Regions from separate parts of the Homo sapiens genome. Here all the other regions are linked to region 2. The links are contacts of gene promoters, found by promoter capture Hi-C in blood cells and fetal thymus (Javierre and others, 2016). All regions are on one chromosome and are shown on one strand. Each heading gives the region's core, a stretch centred on a gene start or on the middle of the fragment in contact. The rest is flanking DNA. Distances are from core to core; before and after follow the strand shown.

What was found. Contacts are between HindIII fragments. The CHiCAGO score rates a contact against its expected background, and 5 or more counts as called.
Region 1: a fragment that was not itself captured here is called in contact with the fragment with the promoter of CNGB1 in region 2 in 5 of 17 cell types (neutrophils, M1 macrophages, M2 macrophages and 2 more); the score reaches 6.0 in neutrophils.
Region 3: a fragment that was not itself captured here is called in contact with the fragment with the promoter of CNGB1 in region 2 in 1 of 17 cell types (neutrophils); the score reaches 5.0 in neutrophils.
Region 4: a contact is called between a fragment that was not itself captured here and the fragment with the promoter of CNGB1 in region 2, in 3 of 17 cell types (neutrophils, M2 macrophages and M0 macrophages). The highest score is 7.3, in neutrophils.
Region 5: a fragment that was not itself captured here is called in contact with the fragment with the promoter of CNGB1 in region 2 in 4 of 17 cell types (endothelial precursors, M1 macrophages, M0 macrophages and 1 more); the score reaches 7.2 in endothelial precursors.
Region 6: a fragment that was not itself captured here is called in contact with the fragment with the promoter of CNGB1 in region 2 in 1 of 17 cell types (endothelial precursors); the score reaches 6.2 in endothelial precursors.
Region 7: the fragment with the promoter of ADGRG3 here is called in contact with the fragment with the promoter of CNGB1 in region 2 in 2 of 17 cell types (M1 macrophages and erythroblasts); the score reaches 6.3 in M1 macrophages.

The regions. Positions count from the first base shown.
Region 1 is chr16:57,643,530-57,646,229 of GRCh38, reverse strand. The region is part of intron 1 of ADGRG1 (adhesion G protein-coupled receptor G1); the gene reads right to left. Among named protein-coding and RNA genes, the nearest start is that of ADGRG1, 16 kb to the right of the region's middle. The HindIII fragment of the contact is 4,737 bases long and covers 1-2,700 here.
Region 2 is chr16:57,969,732-57,972,431 of GRCh38, reverse strand. CNGB1 (cyclic nucleotide gated channel subunit beta 1) reads left to right here and starts at 1,304. Exons shown (of 33, transcript NM_001297.5): 1 at 1,304-1,372. The HindIII fragment of the contact is 12,254 bases long and covers 1-2,700 here.
Region 3 is chr16:57,595,492-57,598,191 of GRCh38, reverse strand. The region is part of intron 1 of LOC105371291 (a long non-coding RNA gene); the gene reads left to right. LOC107984889 (a long non-coding RNA gene) reads right to left here. Exons shown (of 2, transcript XR_001752212.2): 2 at 45-699. Among named protein-coding and RNA genes, the nearest start is that of ADGRG1, 32 kb to the left of the region's middle. The HindIII fragment of the contact is 8,551 bases long and covers 1-2,700 here.
Region 4 is chr16:57,624,144-57,626,843 of GRCh38, reverse strand. It overlaps a transcript of ADGRG1 not described here. Among named protein-coding and RNA genes, the nearest start is that of ADGRG1, 3.1 kb to the left of the region's middle. RefSeq lists an enhancer at 2,173-2,467. The HindIII fragment of the contact is 3,334 bases long and covers 1-2,700 here.
Region 5 is chr16:57,568,153-57,570,852 of GRCh38, reverse strand. It overlaps ADGRG5 (adhesion G protein-coupled receptor G5), which reads right to left. Exons shown (of 12, transcript NM_001304376.3): 10 at 318-435. It overlaps LOC105371291 (a long non-coding RNA gene), which reads left to right. Exons shown (of 4, transcript XR_933627.4): 3 at 220-378. Among named protein-coding and RNA genes, the nearest start is that of ADGRG5, 27 kb to the right of the region's middle. The HindIII fragment of the contact is 2,988 bases long and covers 1-2,700 here.
Region 6 is chr16:57,684,516-57,687,215 of GRCh38, reverse strand. It overlaps ADGRG3 (adhesion G protein-coupled receptor G3), which reads right to left. Exons shown (of 12, transcript NM_170776.5): 11 at 1,290-1,573. Among named protein-coding and RNA genes, the nearest start is that of DRC7, 8.9 kb to the left of the region's middle. The HindIII fragment of the contact is 871 bases long and covers 972-1,842 here.
Region 7 is chr16:57,666,904-57,669,603 of GRCh38, reverse strand. ADGRG3 (adhesion G protein-coupled receptor G3) reads right to left here and starts at 1,298. Exons shown (of 12, transcript NM_170776.5): 1 at 1,199-1,298. The coding sequence starts at 1,256. The HindIII fragment of the contact is 25,338 bases long and covers 1-2,700 here.

The sequences.
Region 1 (2,700 bases), core at 55-2,554, 330 kb after region 2:
ACGAGTCACCGCTGCCCAGGCCAAGCTCCTGGAAAACCCATTTCCTCAGAGGATGGAGGTGGAAGTTGAGTGGACAGGACCTGGACGGCTCTGGGATTAACCCTTCCCGGGCAGGCGCCTCTCTGCTGTCTCCTGCCGGGAAGACCCACGAACCTGGCCATCCACTGCTTCCTTCTTCCCTTTACACACAGTGACCACTGCCCGCCCCCGAGCACAGGCATCCCACCCACAGACCTTTGCCCCTTGGTGTCCCTTTGCCTTGGATAGCACTTAGCCCCGTGACATTCCGCTCATCTTTGAGACGAGCTAAGACAAGTCCTCCCCATGAAGCCTCACCTACCCGTCCATTCCTTGCCAAAATTAACGCATGTTCCTGCTGGCCCACAACCCACCCTCAACACAACACGCCCCCCATTGCCACAGGCGCTCACATCAGAGGCTCCCAAGCCTGCCGGTGGGTCAGACCTTCCTCTGGGAGTGAGCTGAAATGCAGATTCACAGTCCCGGCCCAAAGAGGGTCTGATGGGGTGGGCTTGGGAGCTTGGCTTTAACAAGCATCCCGTTGATGGACATACTGCAGGCTTGGGAACCACGGGCTTATGAACCAGGGAAAGGCACCAGCAGCCCTGGTTTAGAGATGGTCAGAGAGGGGAGGGACTGGCCCCGCATCCCTCAGCTGCTAGATGGTAGGGCCTGGACTCGGGGCCAGGGCAGCCTGCGTTCCAGCACTCTCTTCCCTGCCCTGTGACGCAGACCCATCAGGCTCCTCTGTGGCTCCCCCAGCATTTAGCGGGGCCCTGGAAGGGGCTTCCTGAAAGACATCAGGAGAAGGGCAGGCATCAGGTTGGGGGGTGGTGGGGTGGGAAGGGAGCCAAGGAGGGAGGAACGAGGGAGCCCCGGAGGCAATCTCCAGGTTCCAGCCTAGTCTTGCCCACCTGGAGGCCTTCCCCTTAAATGGGCCCTCGCTGGGAGAGGCAGAGGGGAAGACCCCCCCAGCTCAACTTCCACTGCCCTAGCTCCCCTCCCGTCCGCAGCTGCTCTCCTGTGGGCTGCTGGGGCACGACACTGAGCTGCTGAGCCTTTGGAAGCAAGGATTTGGCCCAGGGGGTCGGGCGGCAGGGTGAGGATGAACTCCTGCGAGTTACACAGGCATGTGGGTGTGTGTGCGTGTGCATGAGTGTGTGTATGTGCATGAGTGTGTGATGAGTGTGTGCGCCCATGCATGAGTGTGCATGTGTGTGTGCATGGGGGTGTGTGCCCATGCATGAGTGTGTGATCAGTGGGTGCCCGTGCATGAGTGTGTGTGTGCATGAGTTATGAAGTGATGAGTGTGTGTGCCCATGCATGAGTGTACATGTGTGTGTGCATGGGTGTGTGTGCCCTGCATGAGTGTGATCAGTGTGTGCATGTGTGTGAGGAGTGATGAGTGTGTGCCCATGCATGAGTGTGCATATGTGTGTGTGCATGGGTGTGTGCCCGTGCATACGTGTGATCAGTGTGTGCCAGTGCGTGTGATCAGTGTGTGCCCGTGCATGTGTGTGCTTGTGCATGAGTGTGTGAGGAGTGTGTGATGAGTGTGCGTGCCCATGCATGAGTGTGCATGTGTGTGCGCATGGGTGTGTGCCCTTGCATGAGTGTGTGATCAGTGTGTGTGCTTGTGCATAAGTGTCCGTGTGTGCATGTGTGTGCCTGCGCATGTGTGTGATGAGTGTGTGTGCCCATGCATGAGTGTGCATATGTGTGTGCATGGGTGTGTGTGCCCGTGCATGAGTGTGTGCATGTGCATGAATGTGTGAGGAGTGTGTGACGAGTGTGTGTGCCCATGCATTAGTGTGCATATGTCTGTGTGCACATGGCTGTGTGCCCGTGCATGAGTGTGTGATCAGTGTGTGTGCCCATGCATGAATGTCCTTGTGTGCATGAGTGTGTGCCTGAGCATGAGTGTGTGATGAGTGTGTGTGCCCGTGCATGACTGTGCATGTGTGTGCATGAGTGTGTGTGCATGAGTGCGTGTGCCCGTGCATACACAGGGATGCATGGGGCCAGGAGGAGAAAGCAAGAGAAGGCGGGGAGCTCCTCAGAGGAACAGACTTCAAAGCTGGGAAGGGGACAGGGAGGGCGGGGCACAGTGCAAAGAGCAGGGCTCTTGCAGGTGTTTCCTCCATGGTGGGTGGCGTGGCGTCTGAGAGGACCCTCCCTCCAACGGTTTCCAAACTTTTTTAATAAAAGTAAATCTTACTTGGAAATAGCATGTACCCAACAGCTCAAAGTAGACACCCCTGTCAGACCCAGGTGGCACTCAGGGCTACGCCCCACCCCCAGCCCAGTCCCCCCACCCCTCAGCCGCACCCATGGGTCCTGGGATAACAGCTTGCAAAGGCAGAAGCACTCTCCTCCCCTATTCCCACTCCCCTCCCCCATTCCCACTCCCCAAGTGAGTGACGGAAGTCCAAGCTAGGTGACCACAGAGAGCTCCCCAAGAGGGGTATTCCAGGATCACTGGCAGAAGCAGAGTGACTTCAGTTTTCAGGAATTTTCCTACAATAAAGGAGAATAAAATGAAGCAAGCTGCCTGCCTCGGAGGCTGGCAGGTGCCCAGGCCTGGCCCACTCACTGCCCAGGGTGAGCCTCACACTCTTACACCAGACCTGCTGGACACCCCCCACCCCCCATACCGCCAGCTCAGGCCTCACTGTCCCC
Region 2 (2,700 bases), core at 55-2,554:
CCTGCCCTCTGTCAACCTCATCTCCCACCACTCTCCCCTGCACCCGTTAAGCTCCAGGCTCCCCGGTTCCCATTCTGCTCCTCAAGGCTCATTCCAGCCTCAGAACCTTTCTCGTTGCAGTGTCCTTGGCCTGGAGCACCACTCACCCAGCTTTTTTCACAGCTGAGTCTTTCTTACTTTTCATGTCTCAGTTCAAATATACATCCACCTCGTCATAGGGGCCTGCCTACCTGCCCCTACTGCCCTCCACAACATGCTTCTGCCCTGTTTGTTTCTTTTATGGCACTTAGCATAATTTGCAATATTCTTTATTTGTCAGTAATCTCCTCCATTGGAATGTAAGCTCCATGAGGACAGGGCCTATGTCTGTCTTGCTCAGTGTGCCAAGGCTGGCACACTGCCAGGCACAAAGGAAGAGCTCTAGGCCAGGTGCAGGGGCTTACATCTGTAATCCCAATACTATGAGAGGCTGAGGCAGGAGGATTGCTTGCATCCAGGAGTTTGAGAGGTTGAGGCTGCAATGAGCTGTGATTGCACCACTTCACTTAGCCTGAGTGACAGAGAGAGACTGTGGCTTAAAAAAAAAAAAAAAAAAAGGAAAGGAAAGGAAAGGAAGAACTCTAGAAATGGTGCGGATAATTAAGTCAAGTCCTGCCCTTTGCCAAATATCCCTCAGGGCCACCACACTGAGCCCCTCTTCCTTGGGCCCTGTCCCTTGCACCCTCTCCTCCTAGATCTCTGTATCCCTTCAAGTGTCCAGCCTCAGTTCACAGGGCAGGTCAGATGCCTCAGTCATCTGCCGGGTCTTGGATCCATCCTCAAGGCCCAGGCCTGGGACACAGCCTTTCTGGCAGAGCCCAAGGCAGGGCTGCTGAGACCCTGCCCAGAGAAGACTCTAAGCCAGAAAGAACCTGCCTGCGTCCTGGCCTGGGGGCTGGAGAGTTGGGGTACACCTCTTGCCACCGCTGAGTGGGAGCTGACAAGCCCCTGCTACCATGAGGAGTCTCCAGGCATCACATGGGAACTCCAAGCTGTTATTCTCCCATCAGCCACTCCGTGTCTTGGCCAAGGTGTATGGGAAGCCAGGCCCCTGGTAAGCCGGGCAGGTCCCCTGGCAACCCATGGTGCTCCAAACCTGGGCCATGCAGGAGCCCTTCCCTGGGGCCCACATCCTTGCTGGACCCTGGGAGTTGGGAGGTGCTGCTGGTTTCCTGGGCATCAACAGCCTCTTTTCTCCCCCTCCCCCATTCAGCACCTGCTAATCCTTTGCACACGGCCCAGCTACTGCCAATTAATCTTCCTTGTGTCTGAGGGGCCAGCTACGAGTGGCAGCAAGAAGGCAATTCCTGGCTGGCGGTTGGCATCTAAGCAGGTAACTCAGGGTGAGGTGGAGGCTCGGTGGGACCCCGAGGGGATCCCCATGTTCTCCCTCTAGAAAGGCATTTAGGTAGGACCAAACTGGCACGGTGGGAAACCTGTGGCTTCCCTCTATCTGGTGGAGCTTGGACTTTAGCGGGCATCAGAATTTTCAGGACAGCTTGTACAATGCAAATTCCTAGGTCCCCCAGGAGGACTTGGGGGACCTAGGAATCTATATTTTCACTAGCTCTCCAGAAGACTCTGGAAATGCTGGTGGTGCAACACCATGGCTCCCCGAGCTGCCACTCGTGGGTCCCCCTTCCCACCTGAGCCTCCCTCATCAAAGTGCAGTCAGCAGGGACACGGGTGAAAGATGGGAGGGACCTGCAAAAATTCTCATTTAGGAGGAAAAAGAAAAATGGGGGATCGGGGAGGCTTCCTTAGTCATTTCCAGAAGGTTTAGAAATGCAAGCGAGAATTGCTGCCTGCTGGGAAGGGTCTACAGGCCTGGCCCGCGGAAGAGGCCAACACTCGGCAAATGCCACGACTACCTGGGAATACATGTGGGGCAGCTGGAATCGGGCAGACCTGAGTGTAAACTCAAGTTGGCCACTGCCGGCTGTGCTGCTTCAGGCGATTCTGTTGACCTTTCTGTGCTACATAATGAAAATTCTTATTTTACTGAGTGCAGGGGCTGGGCGGGGCGTGGTGGTGAGAGCGAGGATGAGTATGATCATGGGTAGAATGCACTTAGCTCAGCCCTGGCTCTCGGGGCTGCCTGGGGCTGGCTGGGGTCAGTGAAATCTGCTATCCCAACATGTGAGCTCTGGCAGTCCCGACCTGGGAAAACATTGTGTCTGTGCCCCCACCTTCAGGGAAATGGAAGACCAGAGGGGTCATGTCTGGCCCAAGTTCATTTTTTGGGAGGCTGAGCCAGGGATCTGACACTTAGAGCTGTGTTCCCACCACAGCCTCTCGTGGGAGAGGCTGGGCTGCTGATGCCAGAGTGGGAACAGAGGTCAGGGCTGTAAGTAGAGGACAGGCAGCACAGCCGTGGGCTCTGGGGAGCTGGGCTTGGGGGCAAGGATCCTGGGCCTGGGCTGCCCTCTTCAGCTGGGGCCAGGGTCCCTGGCAGAAAGGGGCATACAGACTCTCTGCCAAAGCCCGGGTTGCCCATGGCTGGGAGAGGGGTGGGGCACACTCATGTGGGGCAAGAACACATCTAGGGCTAGGAGTTAGCACACACTGACCTGCACGCTGCGCACTGGCCAGGCCATCCTGCAGGGGTTCAGTCATAAGGGCTGGGGCTCCCCATTCCCCAAGGAGAAATCAACCAGAAAC
Region 3 (2,700 bases), core at 71-2,570, 370 kb after region 2:
AAACTTAATAGGACTATGGAAGAATCAACAGCCATAATAGAAGATTTTAAGACACCGTTTTCAGTTTAATTTTAAAAACGAGACAAAAGGGTATAAAAGATTTGAAGAACTCTGTTAATAAACTAGACTTAATGAGCATATGTAGAATACTGCACACAATTGTTGTAAGATACATGTTTCAAGCAGAACATTTACAAATTTGGCTCATATTCTGAGCCTAAAACAAATCTTGATAAATTTCTAATTCATGTAATGTTGATCTGACCACAATATAATTAAGCTAAAATCAATAAAAAAAAAACTAGGAAATCCCCATAATGTGGAAAATTTAAAGTCATACTTCTTTATATCACAGAGAAGTTACAATTAAAAACTAAAAACATTTTGAAGTGAATAATAATGAAAATATCATATATATCAAAGCTGGTAGGAAATTTTTCTAAAGTTAATACTTACAGGAAAATATATAGCATATAATAGAAAAGAGTAAAGACTTAAAATTAATGAGCTAATCATCCATTTCAAAGAGCTTAGAAAAAGAATAGTAAATTCAACCCCCCCCCAAAAAAAGTATACGGAAGACCAAAGCACAAGCTAATAAAATAGTAAGCATACAATTAAGAAAATGAACAAAAATCAAAATTGGATCTTTGAAGAGATTAGTAAAATTGGCAAACCTCTGGAGAAATAACGAAGACACTAGAAAAGAAAAGCACAAATAACCTATGTCAGATAGAAAAAGGAGAACATTATTATGACCATAATTATATAAAAAGATAATATTGTGAACAACTTTATGCCAATAAATTTAAATTTTATAAAAAGCCTTAGAAAAGCATTGCTTACCTAAATTGACATAAGTAGAAATAGAAATTCTGAGCAGTCCTAGACATAGAATTTGTATTTATACTCAAAAATCTTCCCACAGTGAAAACTTAAGGCCAGGCAGTTCCACTGGCAAGTTATACCAAACATTCTAGGAATAAATAATAATTCCAAGTTGGCCCCAAACTCTTATGAAGACTCAAACTTGTTTTATGAGGCTGGCATACTCTTGACACCAAAACCCAACTAGACAGTATGAGAAAGAAAAATTACAGGCTACTCTTTCTCAAGAACATAGATGCAAAAATTCTTTTAAAAAATTAGTAAACTAAATCCAGTAACATATAAAAGGATAATGTTAGGTTTAACAAATGCAATACATATTTTACATTACCAAAAAAAGTAATGTAATTCATGACATTAAAAGATCAAAGTAGAAAATTCTAATAATGATCGCAATATATGCAAAGAGATGTTTGACAAAATTCAACATTCATTCATGATTTTAAAACAAACAAAAACCCTTAGCAAACTGGAAACAGAAGGGAACTCCCTAAATCTGATAATATCTGATCTAATATACAGGTATATGAAACACTACAACAGATAGTATACTTTCAGGTGAAACTGTTAAAAACTTTTCCTTGGAGATTGGCAACAAGATAAGGAAGCTCACTATTACCACAGCTGTTAAACTCTTGTTCTGTAAGACCTGGCCTGTGTACCAAGGAAAATAAATAAAATAAAACATACAAGGATTGGAAAGATAAAAATGAACTTTATCATTCACGGATGATATGACGAGTATATGAAAAATGCAAAGCGATCCACAGATAAACTATTATATTCAATGAGAGAGTTTAGCGAGGTTGCTGAATACAAAAATCAATATTAAAACTTCATTGTGAGGCCAGACATAGTGGCTCATATCTGCAGTCTCAGCACTTTGGGAGGCTGAGGCAGGTGGATCACTTGAAGCCAGGAGTTCAAGACCAGCCTGGCCAGCATGGTGAAACAGCATCTCTACTAAAAATACAAAAATTAGCTGAGCATGGTGGCATGTGCCTGTAATCCCAACTACTCAGGAGGCTGAGGCACAAGAATCACTTGAACCTGGGAGGCAGAGGTTGCAGTAAGTCAAGATGGCACCACTGCACTCCAGCCTGGGCAACAGAGTGAGACTGCATCTCAAAAAAAAATAACAATTATGTAAAATTATATAGTAGCCATAAGAATCAGGAAATGAAGATTTTTAAAAAATCACTGCAATAGGCAGCCTCTAAGGAAGTCTCCCAGTGAACCCTACCTCCTGGTATTCACACCTTTGGGTAATCTCATCTTCTTGTATGGGCTGGATTTAGTGCCTCACTTCTAATGAATAGAATATGGCAGAAATAATGGGATGTCTCTTCTGATATTAGGTTATAAAGAGTGTGGCTTCCATCTTGAATACTATCTCTCTCTCTCTCTCTCTCTCTGATACTATCTCTCTCTCTCAGATCACTTGCTCTGGGTGAAGCTAGCTGCCATGTCATGAGGCAGCCCTGTGGATCACCTCCACAGTCAGGCCCTCAGATGAGACCTCAGCCCTGTCCTCCAACTTGACTGAAACCTCATAAGAGACCTTGAGCCATTGCCACTTAGCTAGGCTACCCCTGGATTCCTGGCCCACAAAAATGGGGAGATAAATTTTGTTGTTTTAGCCACTGAGTGTTGGAGTGATTTGTTACATGGCCATGATAACTAATATGACCATCATTTATAATACTTCAAAATATATCAAGTACTGAGAAATAAATCTAACTAGAAATGTGCAAAACCCAGATAAAATTCTAAAACTTAATTGAGAACTAATTTAAGACATGCAGAAATATA
Region 4 (2,700 bases), core at 8-2,507, 350 kb after region 2:
ACCTCTGCCTCAGTTTCCCCAAGGTCAGTCCTTCAGGGCCTGATCAACTGGTAACCCGGGCAGCCTCAGCTGTTCCCCAGGGACCAGGCCCACAGGGCAGCTGTCCCCCCACCACCACCACCACACACACACCCCACAGAGCGTGCTGACCAGAAGGGCACAGATGGAGAGTTGAAGGCACCACTCTCTCTGCAGATGGCTGAAGAGAGTGCGGAGCCAGCTGCCACTCTGGCCACATAGGAGAGGCTTATGGGGCTGCCTGGCTGGGCGGAGTTGGCTGCCCAGCTCTGCCTGCCTCTCTCACCGTCGGACTTTGCAGAGACCTACTATGAGCTAGGGGCAGGCAGGTGAGGAAGCAGGCCCCCAGCTCTGAGTCTGGCTAGAGAGACAAGCCTGGTTCTCATAGTAGCGATACCTGGAGTTGGTATTCAGCATCCAGGGGTCTCTGGGAGTAAAGGGGGAGAAATTCAATGACTTGTTAAACACAACACTATCTGTTATGAGTGCTGATAACAGGACTAATAATCACCTGCTATGTCTGGAGGTTTTATGGTGTAAGATGCTCTGCTTGTACAGATCATTCTCATTTTATCCACACAACCCTGTGGGTTGGGTACCACTTGTATGTTAGAGATGGTCAGAGACATGAAGTAACTTAGCCAAGGTCGCACAGCTTGGACCTGGCTGGGCCTCCAGGTGTGTGGGCTGTAACCAAACACGGGACACCAGATATCCGGCCCCTGCTAGGCACTTCATCTTCTCCTTCTGTTCTCACAACAGTCTATCCCCACTTTACAGAAGGGGAACCGAGGTACAGGGAGGGCTACCCACGCCTTTCTATAACAGCCAGGATCTGAACTAAGCGTGTAGACCCCAGAGCCCCTGCTGGGACCTGAAGGAGAAGAAGGGGGCTTCGATAAACAGAGACCAGCAGGAAGGGCACCCCAGGCAGAGGGAACAGCATTGGCTGAGGTGGAGAGGTAGGGCATGGAGCCATGCTTGGAAGGAAGTGGGATCTAACTGGGCAGCAAGGGGCAGATTCTGGAAGATTTTGAAAGTGTAGAGTTTGGGCTTAAATCAAAGGTACTGGGGAGCCAGAGAAGATGTTTGGGTAGGGAGAGGCCTGATTAGCCCTCAAAATGTGGTCTTCAGACCTACAGATAGCCTGAGACCTGCTGAATCTGAATGTGTATTTTAATAAGATGCCCAGGGGATTCCAGAATTGGAGGTGTGAGAAGCCCTGGTCTAGACGCCAGGGACTTGTACCAGCAATGATGCGGAGGGATGGGCAGAGGAGTAGAGGGGAAGTTGGGTCCGGATGGGGCCTCGAAGGAGGCAGATGGGGGAAGAGCGGGGGAGGAGACTTTGGTCCAAGAGACCAGGAAAAGGGCTGGGACACCCCACCCCCCACAACCCGACAAGTGAAGGTGGGGACCGAGGAGAGGGGGAAGATGTCTGAAACGTCCCTGAAGAATCGGGGCACAGGATGGGGTGCAGATCCGGAAGGCAGAGAAGAGACTGCCCTGTGTGCAATGGAATGGGGGCAGCTCTGTGTCATGTGGGGAAGCCACAGGTCCCCCCTGCTTCCCAAGGCAGCTGGAAACACGTCGTTGGGGCTCAGCAGTGAGGGACTGGGGTCGCCAGGCCCAGAGAAGGTCATGGCATCATTGGCTGGCGACGGAGTCCAGAGATGGTGTGGGGAAAGCAGAAAGCTGAAGGTGCAGGAAACCCTTCGTTTTGAGGGACAGAGGAGAGGGGGCAATGCTGCTGCACCCTCTCTGAGCCCGGAGTCTGTGATCACAGACTCTGGGTTCAGGCCAGCTGGCCTCTACTCCCAGCCGGCCAGCTGGATGACTTGGGCAAGCATCTCTCCATCCATTTATCTCCTCGCCTGCCAAGTGGGGACCAAAATAGCACCTTCTATTGGGCCGATTAAATGAGGCCACATGCGTAAATCTTGCAGCCCAGGCCTGGCAGACAATGGGCACCCCAATGCATTGGCCAGGGCACTGTTATTCAGAGGGGCCTGCAAAGGAGGTAGAGAGGAGGCTGCCGGGGAGGTAGGAGGAGATCTTCAAGAACATGAGAGCCTCAGGACAGGGATAAGGGGTTAGGGCATCCTTATTGTCTGCTGTGACTGAGGCCTGGGGGAGTAGGAAGACATGGTGGGGCTGGGAGGGCTAGGAGGAGGTCTTCAGCCCCTTTTTCTATCTCTAACCCTCTGGCCAGAGCAGCAGCATTTAGTGGGAACCAGCCTAGCAAACAGTGAAGAGCTGTCCCCACCTGTGCAAATGGCCATGAGCAACCACTGCCTGCTCAGAAGTGGGTTTTTTCTTTGTTTTCGAGACAGGGCCTCGCTCTGTTGCCCTTGCTGGAATGTAGTGATGCAATCATAGCTCTCTACAGCCTCAATCTCCTGGGCTCAAACGATCCTCCCACCTCAACTTCTCAAGTAGCTAGGACTATAGGCATGCCCCACCACACCAGGCTAACTTTTGTATTTTTTTGGAGAGACAGGGTCTTGATACGTTGCCCACGCTAGTCTTGAACTCCTGAGCTCAAGCGATCCTCCCACCTTGACCTCCCAAAGCGCTGGGATTACAGGTGTGAGCCACTGCGCCCAGCCTCAGAGGTGGGTATTTTTTAGACAAGAGCAGTTCATATCCAGGCTTCTCCCCTTGCAAGCTGAGTGACCATATA
Region 5 (2,700 bases), core at 6-2,505, 400 kb after region 2:
CCAGACCCTCAGGGCCTGGGCACTGGAGGGCAGGGCAGGACAGAGGAGGCGGGAGGCCCGGCTGCCCTGGCAGGTTGGCGAGCAGACGCTGGCTTCGTAGACTTCACCAGCATAGAACACAAGGCTGCCTCTGCAGGAGACCTGGATCCATGGAAGGGATGTGGTGGAGCCCCCTGCAAACTCCCCTGTCTAAGCCCCAGCTCCCTCTCTGCCCCACAGCCAGTGCTTTGCCTACAGGATATTCCATTTGGAGCCCCAGGCCCATGTGGCCCTTCTGCCAGAGCCAGGGAGCCCACTGCAGCCCTGAGGGCACTCACATGGACATGTTCTGGAAGCCTGTGCCATTCTCCCAGCTGTCGAAGACGGGGATTGTGCAGGGTCCGTATACCGAGCTCTTGACAGAGAGGGAAAGCAGCACCAGGAGGGCTGGGGCCCCTGAGGGGTGGGACAAAGGCTCAGGAGATGTGGGAGAGGGCTGACCCTCGGTCCCTGGGGCGGTCCCTGGGGCTGCTGACACAGAATTTCACTGGTCAAGGGACAACTGAGAGGAGACTGTTGTGAGCCCCCAACTTCAGAGCAATGAGCCTGGTGGTTTGGAGGAAGCTCTCCTCCAAGATGATGTTAGTGACGGCTCTACGATGGAACAGTGGTGGAGGGAGGAGTGGTCACACTGGGAAGGTGGTGGTGGGGAGCAAATGGGAGGGAGGACTGGGGAACTGCTGAGGAAATAGAAATAAGCAAGAAAGGGGCAAGGACGGTGATGAAGGTACCAGTGATGGTGCTGCTGGAGATAGAGAAGGTGGAGGAAGTGATGATGGTGGAGATGGAGGTGGAGTAGGTGGTGATGGTGGTGAAGGAGGTAGAGAAAATGAAGGCGGTAATGGAGGTAGAGGAGGTGATGATGGTGCTGATGGAGGTGGAGGAGATGGAGGTGATGATGGTGATAGTGCAGGTGGAGGAGATGATGGTGATGACAGAGGTGGAGAAGATGGAGGAGGTGACGGTGATGATAGACGTGGAGGAGGTAATGATGATGATAGAGGTGGAGGAGATGGAGGAGGTGATGGTGATGATGGAGGTGGAGGAGGTGACGATGGTGATGACAGAGGTGGAGGAGATGGAGGATGTGATGACGATGGTGATAGAGGTGGAGGAGGTGATGATGGTGGTGACAGAGGTGGAGGAGATGGAGGAGGTGATGATGGTGATGATGAAGGTGGAGGAGGTGATGATGGCGATGATAGAGGTGGAGGAGATGGAGGAGGCGATGGTGATGATGGAGGTAGAGGAGGTGATAATGGTGATGATAGAGGTGGAGGAGATGGAGGAAGTGATGGTGATGATGGAGGTGGAGGAGGTGATGATGGTGGTGATAGAGGTGGAGGAGATGGAGCAGGTGATGATAGTGATGACGGAAGTGGAGGAGGTGATCATGGAGGTGATAGAGGTGGAGGAGGTGGTGATGGAGTTGATGGAGGTGGAGGAGGTGGTGATGGAGGTGATGGAGGTGGAGGTGGTGGTGATGGAGATGATGGAGGTGGAGGTGATGATGATGGAGGTGGAGGAGGTGATGATGGAGGTGATGGAGGTGGAGGAGGTGGTGGTGGAGGTGAAGGAGATGATGGTGGTGGTGAAGGAAGTGGAGGAGGTGGTGGAGGTGGAGGAGGTGATGACGATGGTGATGAAGGTGGAGGAGGTGGTGATGGAGGTGGAGGAGGTGATCATGGTGGTGAAGAAGGTGGTGATGTACGTGGAGGAGGTGATGATGGTGGTGATGAAGGTGGAGGAGGTGATGGCGATAACGGAGGTGGAGGAGATGGTGATGGTGGTGATGGAGGTGGAGGAGGTGATGGTGATGATGAAGGTGGAGGAGGTGATGATGGTGGTGATAGAGGTGGAGGAGATGGAGCAGGTGATGATGGTGATGACGGAGGTGGAGGAGGTGATCACGGAGGTGATAGAGGTGGAGGAGGTGGTGATGGAGGTGATGATGGTGGAGGAGGTGGTGATGGAGGTGATGGAGGTGGAGGAGGTGGTGATGGAGGTGATGGAGGTGGAGGAGGTAGTGATGGAGGTGACAGAGGTGGAGGTGGTGGTGATGGAGGTGATGGAGGTGGAAGAGGTGATGATGGAGGTTGAGGAGGTGATGATGGAGGTGATGGAGGTGGAGGAGGTGGTGGTGGAGGTGAAGGAGATGATGGTGGTGGTGAAGGAGGTGGAAGAGGTGGTGGAGGTGGAGGAGGTGATGATGATGGTGATGATGGTGGAGGAGGTGGTGATGGAGGTGGAGGAGGTGATCATGGTGGTGAAGAAGGTGGTGATGTACGTGGAGGAGGTGACGATGGTGGTGATGAAGGTGGAGGAGGTGATGGCGATAACAGAGGTGGATGAGATGATGATGGTGGTGATGGAGGTGGAGGAGGTGATGGTGATAATGAAGGTGGAGGAGGTGATAATGGTGGTGGAGGAGGTGGAGGAGGTGATGGTGATAATGAAGGTGGAGGAGGTGATAATGGTGGTGGAGGAGGTGACGATGATGATGATGGAGGTGGAAGAGGTGATAAAATTAGTAACATAGAAAGTAGAGGTGGGTGTAGACAGAGTTCACAGCTGGTGGTCATGTAATGGCCACTATGACGATGAGGAGGAGGGGAAAGAAAGGACTAAAGGGGATCAATACCCTGCCCACCTGGAAGTCTG
Region 6 (2,700 bases), core at 158-2,657, 290 kb after region 2:
CGATGAATGAGGACGGAAGGAGCTGAGTGACTTGCTGGGTCAGGGATGGGGCTAGGATTTGGACCCAGGGCTGCCTGGCCCTAGCCACTAAGCCACACATCTCTCATGGGGCGCTGGGAGCCAGTCCTGGTCTTGGGGGCTTATACCCGCTGCATCTAGGACGCCTGGGTTTCTAGTGACTTCCCTGAACAGGTTGAGTCTCGTCACTCCTGTCTTGGCTGTTTCTCTCACAGTCAGACTGTGATGCCTCTCTGGGCTGTGGATGTAAGGAGCAAAGAGAACACATATAAACCATAGCACATGGACTGCTCTTACCCCTTTGCTGGGATCTCAGAGGAAGGGCCCTGCGGGGGCCAGTAACAAATACAGCAAGCATTTCCTTCCTACCTCCATAGATCCCTGGAGATCCCATCCATGTCATGTGGACATCATATCACATGATTCTGCCCTTCTGGTCGCAGCTGATTGGACCAGAGATGGACGATGGACACCCAACTTGCAAGGTCAGGTAGGGTTACGGCAGCCATGTTGGGTAACAATTTGGGGCCATGGGTAGTAAAGGGTAAGTGGAGAGAGAATGAAGGAGTTTCCACAGACACTAGGTGAGAGACTCCATAGCTCCAGGAAAAAGATAGAGAACGTATCTGCTTTGGTTTGGGTGGCTTTTTCTGATTCTGGTAGCAGCTCCCATGAAGGCAGCTGATATGTCTGGGATGTTTGTTGCTTCCAAATCTCATGTCCAAATGTGATTCCCAATGTTGGAGGTGGGGCCTGAGGGGAGGAGATTGGATCCTTGGAGCGGATCCTCATGCATGGCTTAGCACTATCCCCTTGGTGATGAGTGAGTGCTCACTTGGAGTTCATGCGAGATCTCGCTGTTTAAAACGGCATGGTGCCTCCCCACTCCCTTGCTCCCACTCTCGCCATGTGATACGCTGGCTCCCCTTTATCTTCCACCATGATTGGAAGCTTCCTGAGGCCTCACCAGGAGCAGATACTGGTGTTGTGCTTTGTCTAAAGCCTGCAGAACCATGAGCCAATTAACCCCATTTTCTTTATAAATTACCCAGTCTCGAGTATTCCTTTGTATTCTAGTAACACAAACGGACTAATACAGCAGCCAAACTTTGCTGCCCTGGATCCTTGCTCTGAGTATTTGAAATCAACATCCTTGACTTCAGCTAGCCTGAACAGAGTCCTGTGTCTTGCAAACCACCCTCTTCCCCACCTCCCAATACCTCCTGGGACAGACAACACAGCCCATCACCTCCCTGGTGCAGGGGCCTCACCTTGCAAGGAGTTGAAAAGTGCAAAGATGTAGACGGTGGAGAGGCCCAACGGGGTGAAGATGGCCAACCCCCATGTCACACCCACCAGGCTCGAGAGGCCCAGCAGGGTGAGCACCTTCTTCCGGTTCTTCCCCCGCTCCTTGACCGCTGTAGCACGGGACAGGGTGAAGATCTTCCAGACCACCAGGGCCAGGACCACCATGCCAAAGAGGAAGGTGATGAGGAAGTAGCCGTGGACGGTGATATAGAGGGCGTACATGGTTGTCCCTTCACGGAACCAGCATCTGGAGGAGGGGGCAGCTGTGGTGGGACTGGGAGTGGTACCTCTGGCCAGCAAACCCAGGAAGTCCCCTGGCTGAGCTTTTCTGTCTGTGAAGGTGCCTCTCCCATTTCCACCCATCAATCCCTGGCTCTCCCGCTGTGGGAGGGGCCGTCACCTGGCTCCAGTCTGGTGTCTCTTTAATGCCAAAGTGACCTCAAAGACATGTTTCATTTGCCCCATATTACATTGTGAAAAAAACGGAATTAGTGGCCGCCTTTAAAATCAGAAGCTTTGGTATAAACACCTAGATTTCTGCTTCTCCTATAAAATCATACACCTGGCAGCTCTGTGGATGCCCTCCTGAAGGATAGTAACTGACCGCTAATTAGATGGGCTTGTGACTGCCAGTCCGCTGCAGTCCCCACCTGGCCCACTGCCTGCACCTTTGTGACCCCTCCAGCTCCTGGGGCCCCTGCTTTTGAGGCCTGGGGACAGGTCCAAGGCCTCACCAGCTCCTCTTAGCACAGAGCCATGGGCCCAGTGGTGGGTGCCCCATGGATCCCAAGGTGTGAGTCTAGAAACTGAACTCAGCTCCACTGCCCTCTGCACTGCAGGGGCAAAGGGCCTCAAAGAGCATGTTGATCAGTTCCCCCATGGTGCAGATGAGGAGACTGAGGCCCTGGGAGAGATCGGGCCTGCCAAGATCACACACATAGCAGGCAGGGCAGAGCCCAGACTAGACCCAGGGCTACTGTGAATCACTGGGCAGGTGGTGGCCTGAACAAGGACACCTGGCTGGGCAGCAGGTGGGGGCTGAAATCCAACACACCCTCCACTCTCCAGGCTGCGCACCCCGCATGCGGACGGGGTGACCTTCTTTACTTTGCCTCAAGGTGCCATGTGGGCTCGTGTTGGCCCAGGCTCAAGTAAGGCATCCTGCCTCCTGGTCCAGTTCTCCCTCTCCTTTCTCAGGCCCCCTCTCTCATTTCACTTCCCCTCTCTCTCTCTAGGCTTCAGTTTACTTCTCTGTGCCATGAGCTAGCTGGATCTGAGGATTCTTCTGGTCTTGACATATTTGGTCTAGATTTTCCTAGAAATCCCTCCTCTCCCCACCTCTCTCCAGCCCCAATATGTGTAGCCGGGGAGCTG
Region 7 (2,700 bases), core at 49-2,548, 300 kb after region 2:
ATCAAATGGCTGCTGCTCTGCCCCAACCAGAGCACCCACATCACCATGGGGGAAACAGCATCACCTGGAGGAGGCTTGAAGGCCCAACCAGCGATGACAGCTGGGACCTGAGGACGCCCATGAGCCCTGGTCACAGCTGCCATCGGTGGCTCCGTTCATTCATCTATCAAGGGCTGCCTGGTGGCCTGCTCTGTACCAGGGCCTCCCGGGGCCACTAGGAGGACAGTGCTGTCATCTCCCACCCTTTTTTGAGCCAGGGACTGATTCACTCCACTGAATCTTCCAATGTTTGAAAAGAAGAGGGTTATTTGAAGACCAAATAAGTTGATCTATGTGGCCAAAGTCACGCGACCACACGCTGGACACACAGGGAGATGGACATGCAGGCCCCTCACCGAGTCAGGAGCAAAAAGAGAGTGGCCTGCAAGGCCCTGAGACAGGAGCACTGAGGAGGGAGCACTAACGGGGGAGCACCTCCCTCTGTCCGAGAGGGTTGCTAAGACGCCACAGAGGCCAAGAAGGGTAAATGGAGCTGGCTAAGTGGGCAAGGGGTAGGGGGACAGCTTTCCTGGGAGAGAGGCCAGCAAAGGCAAGGCCCGGGCACTTCCATGGCCTCTGGAGACGCACCATGTGTTTGTGTGTGAGACGGGAGAGTGACGGGGAGGAGTGTGGATCCTGGCTCAGGCCACTGAGGACCAAGAGGTTGTGGCTGAGACTGGGAGAGGGAGCCGGTGTGGGGTGACATGTGCGGGAGGAGAGGTCCAGAAGAACGAGGTGACAGACCTTCCTGGCCTCAGCTTCCAGAGTGTCTGAATCCCGTCCCCAGGATCTCACAAGCCAGCTGGAGAATTGCCTGCCCGGGGCCAACCCCTGTCTCAGAGCCAGGCCTGTCAGGGAGACACAGCCCAGGTTGGGGAGTCAGGGAGCACCCTCCGACCTCCCCTATCTCCAGGGCACTGTGGAGCAACAAAGGGAACCTGAGACCAGTCCTGAGCAAGGTTTAGTGGAAGGACAGGACTGACCCAAAGGGACAGGGCTAGAGAAGGTGCTGAGGCGGCCACGGGGGGTATCGGAGGACACATCCCAGACACCCCAACTCCTCACCTTCTCCAGTCCCTGCGTCTGTCCCTGGATCCCTCCCTCGGCAGGGCAGGGTCGGCCCAGCGTGGCAGGAGGGGATGAGGTGCCAGCCACTCACCTGAGGTCGGGAGCAGGAGGAGCAGGAGCAGGGCCCCCAGGCCCCTGGGCGTCGCCATCCTTGGCCAGCCTTGCCCACGCCAGGAGCTCTGTGGCTGTCTGGCCCTCTGGCCCCAGGCTCTGCTGAGCTGGCCTGCCCCCACCCTGCAGCCCCACCACTCTGGCTTCCTGTGTCCTCTTTCTCACCCTTCCTGCTCGATGGCGCCATTGGTTGGGTTGTGAAAGGTGAGTGTGGGGAACTGGGCAGTGCTCCCAGTCTCACCGCACCCTGGGTCCACCTGCAGAGGGAGCTGCTGAGCCCACCCAGGTATGTGCCCCCGGGGCCCCACTGGGGTGGGATCTACGGGGCTAGGGGCTGGGTGGCCACAGGGGCCTGGCTCAGAGCGGATCCCTGGGAACTGTGGTGAGCACAGGCTTTGGAGTCAGGCGCACCTACTCAGACCCCTCCTCTCACAAGCTGGGAGCCTCTCTGAGCCTCAGTTTCCTCCTCTGTAAAGTGAAGATGGCAATGGGGCTGCCTCCTAAGGCTGTGTCAGGGTTTGATGAGACCTGCAACAAGCTGGGCACAGAGCCTGGCTCTGGGCATGAGGACGAAGACCCAGATGGTGCCTATGGCTTGAACCAGGCTGGAGGGTGTGGGAGGAGAGCAGGAGCTGGCCCTGCAGCCTGAGCTTCCCCCACCAGCCTGGATAACAGGACGGACCCAGAGGCAGGGTAGCGGGAAGACAGCAGTGCGGCCCCGGGGGCTGGTCAGGCCTGAGCTAACATCCATCCTGGCCACTTCCTGGCCGGGTGACCTTGCATGCACTGTCTGTCACCCTGAGCCTCCCGAGGTGTGTGATGAAATCATGGATGACGCAGGCGGAGCCGCCTGTGGCCATTACATCATTTCTGATCATCAGAGCTGTGAAATTGTTGTCTTTACACCCCAAATGGTCACTGATCAGGTGGGAGGTGGGGGTGGCAAACACTCCTGGGCTTCAGCCTAAAGGAATTAGGGCGCCAGCCACTCGGGCCAACTCTGGAGGCCCCACGGATGCACTGTGCATGAGGCCATGGCCACTTGGCAATTGGAAGGTGAAGGGCATCCCACCAAGGTGTGTGGTTGCTGGCATCCCCCTCTGGCCCACGGGGCTGGCACTAGCCCTACTCAGCCTTGGGATTGAACTGGGGAGCCGCTCAGCCCCTGCTGGCCTCCATTTCCTCCTCCTCCCACTCAGTGTCTCCTGCTGAGCCCTCTGGGTCTGGGAAGGGGTAGGGAGGGGATGTCAGGGTCACTCATGGTGTGGGAGCAGGTGGGAATTCAGCATGGAGCAGCAGGTCAGAGCCCAGGGCTTCCTGAGCCCCAGAAACTTCCTCTGCAGGGAGGGCTGCGAAGGCAGATGAATGGCTGGGCCTGCCACTGCTCCACACCTGGCCAGCCTTCTCCTGGAAGATCTGCAGACCTCCCTCCCAGCTGCAGGTGAGGGTGAGGTGGGGCAGTGGACTTGGATGTGCTGGGCC